Regions from separate parts of the Homo sapiens genome. Here regions 1 and 3 are each linked to region 2. The links are contacts of gene promoters, found by promoter capture Hi-C in blood cells and fetal thymus (Javierre and others, 2016). All regions are on one chromosome and are shown on one strand. Each heading gives the region's core, a stretch centred on a gene start or on the middle of the fragment in contact. The rest is flanking DNA. Distances are from core to core; before and after follow the strand shown.

Region 1 (3,393 bases), core at 6-2,505, 1.0 Mb after region 2:
TGTTTTCTTATAGTAGTTTCATGGTTTCACATCCTAGATTTAAGTCTTTAGTCCATTTTGATTTGATTCTTGTACATGGTGAGTGATAGGACACTAATTTTATTCTTTTGCATATGGTTATCTAGTTTTCCCAGCACGATTTATTGAAGAGGCTGTCCTCTTCCCAGTGTATGTTCTCAGTACCTTTGTCACAAATGAGCTGAGTGTAAATAGGTGGTATTATTTCTGTGTTCTCTATTCTGTTTAATTAGTCTATGGGTCTAGTTTTATGTGGCTTTGGTTACTTTGGCTTTGTATAGTATATTTTGAACTCAGGTAATGTGACGCTGCCAATTTAGTTGTTTTTGCTCAGGATTGCTTCAGGCTCTATTTTGGTTCCATATAAATGTTAGGTTTACTTTTTCTATTTCTATGAAAAATCTCATTGGTAGATTGATAGGGATTATATTGAATTTGTAGGTTGCTTTGGGTAGTGTTATCATTTTAATGGTATTAATTTTTGCAAACTATGAGTATGGGATGTCTTTTCATTTTTTGTATGTTCTTTTCATCAGTGTTCTCTTCCTCAACTGGTTTTTCTTGTATAGATCTTTCACTTATTTGGTTAAATTGATTCTTAGTTATTTTATATTTTTTGTAGATATTGTAAATGGGATTGCTTTCTTGAGTTCTTTTTCAGATTGTTCACCGTTGGCATATATAAATGCTACTGATTTTTGTATGTTGATTTTGTATCCACAACTTTACTGAATTTGCTTAACAGGTTTTCGTTAATTTTTGTTGATTTTTCTTTCTGGATGATCTGTGTGTTACCAAGAGTGAGGTGTTAAAGTTCCTTACTATTATTATATTACGGTCTCTCTCTCTCTCTCTTTAGATCTTTAATATTTGCTTTGTATACTTGAGAGCACCAGTGGTAGGTGCATAGACATTTATAATTGTTTTGCTGAATCCTCTTGCTGAATTCACGCCTTTATCATTATATAATGATCCTCTTCATCTCTTTTTAGTCTTTGATTTTTACTGTATTTTTCCTGATGTAAGTATAACTACTTGGTTTTTTTTTTTAGTTTTTTGTTTGTTTGTTTGTTTCAAGTTGTATGTAATACCTTTTTCCACCCCTTCACTTTGTCTATGTGTCTTGATAGTTGAAGTGAGTTTCTTGTAGGCTGTATATATTTGGATCATGTTTCTTTATTAATTCAGCCACTCTCTGCCTTTTAATTGGAGAATTGAGTTCATTTAGTCAGTGTTATTATTGATAAGTAAGGACTTAACTACTGCCATTTTGTTGCTTGTTTTCTGGTTGCTTTGTAACTCCTCTCTTCCTTTCATTCTTTCTTACTGTCTTTCTTTGGGGTTAAGTGATTCTCTCTGGTAGTATGTTTTAATCCATTGCTTGATTTTTAAAACATTTTTGTGGGTACATAGGTATATATATTTATGGGTTAACTGAGATGTTCTGATACAGGCATGTAATCTGAAATAAGCATACCATGGAGAATGGGGTATCCATCTCAAGCATTTATCCTTTGAGTTACCTATAATACAATTACATTCTTTATTTAAAAAATACAATTAAGTTTATTATTGACTATAGTCATCCTATTGTGCTGTCAAATAGTAGGTCTTATTCATTCTTTCTATTTTTTTTTTTTGTGCTCATTAACTGTCCACACTTCCCCTACCATCCCCCGTCTACTGTTCCTAACTTCTGGCAACCATTCTTCTACTCTCTATGTCCATGAATTCAATTGTTTTGATTTTTAGATCACACAAATAAGTAAAAACATGAAATGTTTGTGTTTCTGTTCCTGACTTATTTCTCTTAATAACATAATGTCCAGTTCCATCCATGTTGTTGCAAATGATGGATCTCATTCTTTTTTTTATGGCTGAATAGTACTCCATTGTGAATATGTACCACATTTTCTTTATCCATTCATCTATTGGTGGACAGTTAGGTTGCTTCCAAATCTTAACTATTGTAATCAGTGCTACAGCAAACATAGGGGTACCGATGTCTTTTTGATATACTGATTTCCTTTCTTTTGGGTATATACCCAGCAGTGGGATTGCTGGTACTTGATATTTTTAGTGAATCTATTATAGGTTTTGGGGTTGTGGGTATCATGAGTTTACAAAAACATCTTATAGATGTTATTTTAAGGAGATGTCAGCTTATCTTAGAATAGAAACAAATAATGAAGAAATAGAAAAAACAATCTCTACACTTTAACTCCATTCCTCTCACATTTTGACTTTTAATTATTGTATTGACATATTTTTATATTACCCATATCTTTACAGATTGCTCTAGCTATTTTTTGGATAGATTTATGTTTGGAGTTTCATTCTAGAGGTATGAGTCTATTGCACCACCAACTTACAGTACTAGAGTTCGCGGTTTGTCTCTGTACTCAATTTTCCTAGCACACTATGTCTGGCAGATTGTGGGAGGAGTGTCATGAACATAGAAGTCTGATTCTCTATACTGTCTGCTCAGTGTTTTCACTTCTCTTTGGACACAGGGATTGCTTCATCCTCAGATTTCAGTTCTGGGATATTGCTCATCGTAATCTTGGCAGAAGGTATTTGTTTTTAGTTTTCTCTTAGGGAGAAGTGAAGCTTGATTCCTTGTACTCCACCATTTTGGTGATGTAACTTTTGTCGCAAAATGTATGTTGAAATCTTTTGTTCACTGATAACTCCCTAACCTTTTTTTCTCTTTTATGTCTTAAGTGTAATTTTAATGGAAGGAAAAGATAAATTAATTAGTCTGTAATCTTAAACAGAACTGGACAATTTGCTTTCTTTATTTAACAATATATTGTGAACATACTGTTTAAGCATAGGCATGATTTTAGTTTTGAGGTTGAAATTATATTCTTTATTCCTTAGTTATGTATTTAGACAGTTCTAATGAAATTCAAAGTGAAGACAAATATTTTTCCAATATTGAACTCACTGCATGATGATTTTTTTTTTTGTATTTTGTTAGTGATTTCTTTAGAGACCTTTAGTTTGTTTTGTTTCTTTCCAGAGAAAGAATTCCAAATTTTCCTATCCTCAACCTGTTGTTTTACTCTGCAGATTCATATGTCATGCATTAAAGATGCATGCTTTCATTTTTGCATCATGCAATTTAAAACTACTTCCATTTTTACATTCTAATTTTAAAACTTGTGGTAGAGTCCTTTTCTTAATATTTGTGTCGTGATTCTTGAAACAATCATTATGCAGTTCTCACTAGAACTGAGAGTAAGAACGTTATTACTCTTTGTTAGGATTATGACATTTATTTCAAAAACAAGGAAAGTAAATGACAATGTATAAATCAATTTGAATGTCAAGTTACAATTTTCTAATTAGATTAGCTCAAGATTCTATTTT
Region 2 (3,386 bases), core at 390-2,889:
AAACAGTAATCAAGCAACATACAGAAAATGATTGGGGAGTGAGAGCAGGAGTGTGGGGGTGCAAAAAGGAAAGTCCATTCCAGGCAGTGTGAGCAACAGGTGAGATAATTACACACAGGAGAGAATGTGACATATTCTGGGAACAATCAAGATGGAACTGCTGATAGAAGGCCTAACTAAAGATTGGATTAGGGTAATGGGGAATCATTGCAGGACTTTAAGTAGGGAAGGGAAATGCCCTTATGTGCGTTTTAAAAAGATCAGTTTAGCCGGGCACGGTGGCTCACGCCTGTAATTCCAGCACTTTGGGAGGCTGAGGCGGGTGGATCACCTGAGATCAGGAGTTCGAGACCAGCCTGACCAACATGGTGAAACCCCTTCTCTACTAAAAATACAAAAATTAGCCAGGCGTAGTGGCTCGCGCCTGTAATCCCAGCTCTCTGGAGGCTGAGGCATGAGAATTGGTTGAACCCGGAAGGCGGAGGCTGCAGTGAGCTGAGATCGCTCCACTGCACTCCAGCCTGGCAGCACAGCAAGACTCCTTCTAAAAAAGGAGTCTTTTTTAGAAGGACTCCATATATATATATATACACATATATATATATCAGTTCAACAATGGTGGGGAAAAAAGTGGATTGGATAGATAGGGCCAGACTAGAATCGGAGAAGCCAGATGGGTGTTGAATTTAACCAACCGATGGTGGAAATTGAGACAGTAAAAATAGAGATGGTAATGTGGGAATTGATTCAACACCTATTAAGAAGGGATAGTCTTGATAATTGATAGAGATGCAGAGGAAGCAGCAGTAAGTGTCATGGATGTCGTCTAGAGTGTAGTTTTTGAAAGCTGAATGGATAGTGATGCCCAAAATAGGGAATCCAAGAGCAGCAGCAGACATGGGGAAGATGGCGTTCAGGGTTGCACATGTGTGGCGTTAACTTGGCAGCTGGATTTTGGGGTCTGACAGTTAGTAGAGCAGGCTAGGTTCCAGTTGGAGACTTTCTAATCATCGTCAGATAGATGGTGCCTGAGGCGAGGAAGTGGAAGGGCTCACCGAAGTAGGGCAGAAAAGCAGAGGGGCAAAGTCAAAGCAGCATCCTGTAAGGAGAAGGCAGAAAAGCGACGCTCATAGAGATGAAGAATGAACCTCCAGAGGCGTCGGAGCAGATTGGAAGAGACACATTCAGGCTCCATTTAACCAGAATAATTCCGTTATCAAAATGGAAGCGCCAAGAAGCATCGTTGATGGCGCTTTCCCACCATCCATCCGTCCAACACAAACCCACCTGCTTTGAAAAGACTGCCTCACGCAGTGACTCACTTACCCACCACAGCCGCATTCTCTACCTCTGCCTCTTGTCTAGTGAAGCTGGCTCCCGAGGCTTCGGGGCCGCTCCACAGGGACCTGAGGACGTCTCCCCGGAGACCCTGACTCAAGCTGCTCGCCGGCACAGCCGAGCACCGGCTCCCGCCTACTCACCGCGCGGGAGGGACGGTCCCTCCTTCAGGCCAATCTCCTTATCATTGTCCCTGCTGCTGTCACCTGCTGCTGCAGACCGGGGGTCCCGTCCAGTCTCAGCCCGTCCCGTCCTCCCCCCAGCCTATTCCCGGTCCCCTCAACCTCAGGGACACCGCGGCCAGCTGCACCGTTGGTTTTCCAATCAAATCCTCCTCCAGGCCACCAACCAGCGCTGGCCAGGCCAATGCCGACAATTCTTCCTCCGCCACCTGGGGCGCCTCAGCCAATCGGGAGCAGCCATGCTGCGCAGTGCAGAACGCCATAGCGACGGATGACGCCTGCCGGGGAATCGCCGTAGCAACCAGAGACGCGCTAGATCCACCACCAAGCTTGCAAGCAGAAGAGGCAGCAAGTGATGCTGAAGGCTGTGCTGCAGCCACTTCACCGGAACCTAGAGCTACCTGTGAACAGGTCTCCTACACGTTGAAGATTTTTCTGGATTTAGGGTGTCTAACCTTTGATGGGAAAGGGCAGCTTCATCTTGGAGTGTTTACTTTCAAGAATTGCTATGGGCTAAAAATCAATTCTCTTTAAAAGCAAAGATTTAATCTGATAAGGAATCAATGCAGCATGCTAAATACCTTTCATATGGCATGAAAACGTCTTCAGTTACTCAAGCCACAGGCAATGAGAATAAGGTGCCACAGCACCGTATTTTTCACAAAAAGAGTGACCTGGGATTCAAGAAACCTGTATAGTATAACTATCGCCAGTTCGTTTTGTGGCTTTGGGCAAGTCACTTCACCTTTTGTGAAAGTCTGGAGCTTCTTTAAAATTTCTGAACTGCATTAGATAACGCTTTAAAAATATACCTGACATTCTGTAACTTTAAATAAATGAAAAATGCCAATCTATTAAGTGCTTAATTTTGTGCCGGGCACGATTTCAAATTCTTTCCTTATTTCACTTAGTTATAAAATGGAGGCACAAGAAGTTTCCTAAGTAGTCCAGTATGGCAGAGCTAGTGATGGAGTCAGGGTAAAACCTACTTCGAGTCTGGTCTTAACCACGATGATGCTCCTTCGACGATTTCTTCGAGTACTGGGCCCTGTTCAACCTCATCTTGGTATCACTAAACGCTCGTGTGTGTGTCTGGTGGTTACATCTTCCCAAACTGGATTTTAAATGAATACAGTGAACCCTAACGTTTTTCTGGTGTGGATAGTAAGTAGGCCCATTGGATTAACAATACTTAAGCTTGGGTAATTGAAAGCATTTTTTAAAATGAAGACGGTCCTATTTTGGAAATGCAGAAAGGCGAGATGAAAGCCAAACTCTGGTGAGTATAGCAGAACTAATTAAACTTCAGAGATCTAAAACAATCAGGATTAATGTTACCAATAAAACAAAACAAGGTGACGGGGCAGGAAGACCGATGCTGAGTAGAAAAAGTATTCTGTACATACATTCTAAATGTTAAGCAGTCGGCCTGGCTTGGTGGCTCACACCTGTAATCCTAGCACTTTGGGAGGCCGAGGCAGGAGGACCACTTGAGGTTAGGAGTTCGAGACCAGCCTGGCCATCATGGCCAAACCCTGTTTCTACTAAAAACAGAAAAATCAGCCGGGCATGGTGGCACATGCTAGTCCCTACTACTCAGGAGGCTGAGGCACAAGAATTACTTGAACCCAGGAAGCAGAGGTGCAGTGAGCCAAGATCATGCCACTGCACTCCAGCCTGAGAGACACAGCAAGACTCTATCTCAAAAAATAAACATTAAGCAGTGAGACATGACTGCACTGAACTTCTCATCTTCACCAGAATACCAATTGTGCTTCCCATCTTTCCACTACTCAGTAAAATTAAAGTCTTAAACTAATGTTTTGGCCATCCCAGAATATTCCTGAACTTCCCTGAAAGCTGCAG
Region 3 (3,126 bases), core at 515-3,014, 1.7 Mb before region 2:
TTACATTTAAGGGCCAGGCGCAGTGACGTTAATTTATAGAAACGATTCTAACAATAAAATCATAATTTATTTTTTAATGAAGCCTCAAAATAGTTAGAACAAAGATCATAATCATTAAAATCACACTCTAAGAAAGTACTCAAAGAAGATAGATGCTATGGAATCGAAAGTAGGTAACATTTTACCATTAACTTAGAACTGCTATTCTAAGTCTGCAATTATTGACATAAAGGTTGAAGACACATGATAACCATACAAATAAAAGCTTTCGTATTCCAGGCTACTCTTCTAAAACCAACCCCATCACAAAGAAAATATTTTCAAGATTAGACTCAACCAGAGGCTCATGTCTATCTAATTTGTATGAACTAAACTGAACTAAAGGGCACACAGGGATAAAAAAAAAAAAACAGGAGTAAAACCTTACCTCATGCTTTCTTCAAGAATTTACAACTTTTTCCACACTTCCTTACTTATAATCACCACCTCTTCCTCCCTGCACCTCTTCCCAAATGGATATATTACAAAAAAAAGTTTGAAAGCTTGAACCCACCAAATTCCTATCAAGTTCAAAGACTTACCATTCTTGCTAAGATAATGTCTAAAAAAAACAGGTAACATTTGAGTGTGGTCAGCCAGATGGCAAAACAAGAAACCCCAGGCCTTTCTTTCCCCATGAAGACAAGGATTCAACAATAACAAACAATCCAACTGCCTTTGTGATAAGTTCCAGCACCCCAGGTGAGCATAAAATAGCATCAAAGCTCATGTCCTCCCTCCTATCTGCCCCAGCAAGGCAAGATTGAGAAAAACAAACAAGACAACAACAACTTCCACCTTCTCCCTGGGGAGGAGCAGAAAAGGAATATACCTCCAATGGAACAGCTGAGGGCAGTGCTACCCTAGAAACTTCTTGACTGAATCTAAGTACTGACATTGAACAGGGTGCCAGGTTGAGGGCCATTGAAAACAAAAGCAAAGTGCTTTGGTTTAGCATCAGACCCTGCAGTATCAGAAACAGACACAAGGTGGAGCTCCAGTACTGTAGTTTACTACAGCACGAGACGCCACAAGTAAAGCAGACAAAGACACACCAGAGGGAGCAGACAGATGGACAGAGGCAAACCTCTTCAATTAAGAAATTACAAACCCAAAGAGGATGCATCCCCATAAAAGATTTGTGAGGTCTCAGGATTCTCTAGCTAGACTAACTGGATGAAGAAAGTCTTCCCAGTATGAAACCAGACCGCAAAGACCAGAGAGTTAGCTAAGCCTTCAAATGCCAAAGCCCTAACAGAAAATAACAATACAAAGAAACAGGGAAATACAGCCGATTCAATGTAAAAAACTAAATTGCAGCCAGGCGCAGTGGCTCACACCTGTAATCCCAGCACTTTGGGAGGCTGAGGCAGGCAGATCCCTTGAGCCCAGAGCTCAAAACCAGTCTGTGCAACATGGCCAAATCTTATCTCTAGCAAAACAAAACAAAAAAAAATTAGCCAGGTGTGGTAGTGCACACTTGTAGTCCCAGCTACTTGGGAGGCTGAGACGGGAGGATTGCCTGAGCCCAGAAGGTCGAGGCTGCAGTGAGCCATCTGCACACAACTGTACTCCAGCCTGGGTGACAGAGCAAGAGCCTGTCTCAAAAAAATAATAAATAAATCACCACAAATTGAGCCTAAAGAAATGGAAATATATTGTCATACAAAGAATTCAAATTAACTGCCATAAGGATGCTTAATGAAATAAATGAGTACAGATGAACAAACAAAAACTCGGTGTAACAATGCATAAACAAAAGGAAAAAATCAACAAAGATAAAAACTATGATGAAGTAGCAAACATTATTTCTGGAACTGAAGCATACAGTAAATGAATTGAAAATACACTAGAGGGATGTAACAGTAGACTTGAGCAGGCAGAATTTTTTTAAATCAGCAAATTTGAAGACAGGACTTTCAAAATTGCCAAGGGAAAGGAGCAAAAAGGCAAAGGAATGAATAAACATAAAAAGAGCTTAAAGAACTTATGGGCCACTATCTATCAGAACAACATATACATTATGTAAGCCTCAAAGGAGAAGAAAGGGAGAAATGGAGAAAGAGCCTATTTGAAGAAATAATAGCTGAAAACTTTCCAAATCTGAGGACATAAATGCATATACAAATTAAAGAAGCTCAAAGAACTCCAAGGATAAATCTAAAGAAAACTACACCAAGACACATCATAATTATACTGTCAAAAGTCATAGACAAAGAGAGAATCTTAAAAGCAGCAACAGAAAAGTGAATCATCAATTACAAAGGAGCTTCTGTTAGATTACTAGCCAATTTCTCAGCAGAAACCTTGCAAGATAGAAGGGATTGGAAGAATATATCTGAAGTACTGAAAGAAAAAAAAAAAAAACACTGCCAACCAAGAACATTGTATCCAGCAAAAGTGCCCTTCAAAAATGAAGTAGAAATTAATACTTTCTTAGATAAACAAACACTGGGACAGTTCATCACCACTAGGTTTGCCCAACAAGAAATGATAAAGGGAGTCCCTTAAAGCAAAAGGATAAAAAATAGCAACACAGTAACACAAAAATACATAACTCCCTGGTAAAGTCCAAGGAGACTCCAAAAAGTTCTTGGAAAAATGGAATCAAAAGATAAAAATAAAAAATATAAATTTTATTTCTCAACAAAAGCTCCATAAAGGTCAAGACACTTTTATAAGTGATGATATCAGCCATTTAGCTCAACTCTGAAGAACCAAGGGTCTTGGGAATTTAACCATGCCAATGCAGTCTTTTTACATTATCAACTGAAAAAATTAGGTGCCTTTTAAAGATTTAAGATTAGTAAACAAAAAAAGTCAGAAGGAGCAAAATCAGGATTATAAGATGGATGCCTAATTATTTATCATCAAAACTCTCATAAAATTGCTCTTGTTTGATGAAAGGAATGAGCAGGAGTACTGTCATGATGGAGAAAGACTCTGGTGAAGCTTTCCTGGGGATTTTTCTGCTAAAACTTTACCTAACTTTCTCAAAACACTCTTATAATAAGCAGATGTTATCGTTCTTTGGCCCTTCATAAAGTCAACAAGCAAAATGCCTTGAGCATCCTAAAAAACTGTTGC

The links. The method cuts DNA at HindIII sites, captures the fragments that hold promoters and counts their contacts. A CHiCAGO score of 5 or more calls a contact.
Region 1: a fragment that was not itself captured here is called in contact with the fragment with the promoter of NEK10 in region 2 in 4 of 17 cell types (M2 macrophages, M0 macrophages, monocytes and 1 more); the score reaches 10.3 in M2 macrophages.
Region 3: a contact is called between a fragment that was not itself captured here and the fragment with the promoter of NEK10 in region 2, in 5 of 17 cell types (total B cells, fetal thymus, total CD8 T cells and 2 more). The highest score is 10.3, in total B cells.

What each region holds. Positions count from the first base shown.
Region 1 is chr3:28,374,094-28,377,486 of GRCh38, forward strand. All of the region lies in intron 1 of ZCWPW2 (zinc finger CW-type and PWWP domain containing 2), which reads left to right. Among named protein-coding and RNA genes, the nearest start is that of AZI2, 27 kb to the left of the region's middle. The HindIII fragment of the contact is 2,741 bases long and covers 1-2,626 here.
Region 2 is chr3:27,367,744-27,371,129 of GRCh38, forward strand. NEK10 (NIMA related kinase 10) reads right to left here and starts at 1,640. Exons shown (of 36, transcript NM_001394966.1): 1 at 1,482-1,640. RefSeq lists an enhancer at 898-1,398. The HindIII fragment of the contact is 2,054 bases long and covers 1-1,847 here.
Region 3 is chr3:25,647,218-25,650,343 of GRCh38, forward strand. The region is part of intron 1 of TOP2B (DNA topoisomerase II beta); the gene reads right to left. Among named protein-coding and RNA genes, the nearest start is that of TOP2B, 16 kb to the right of the region's middle. The HindIII fragment of the contact is 2,449 bases long and covers 541-2,989 here.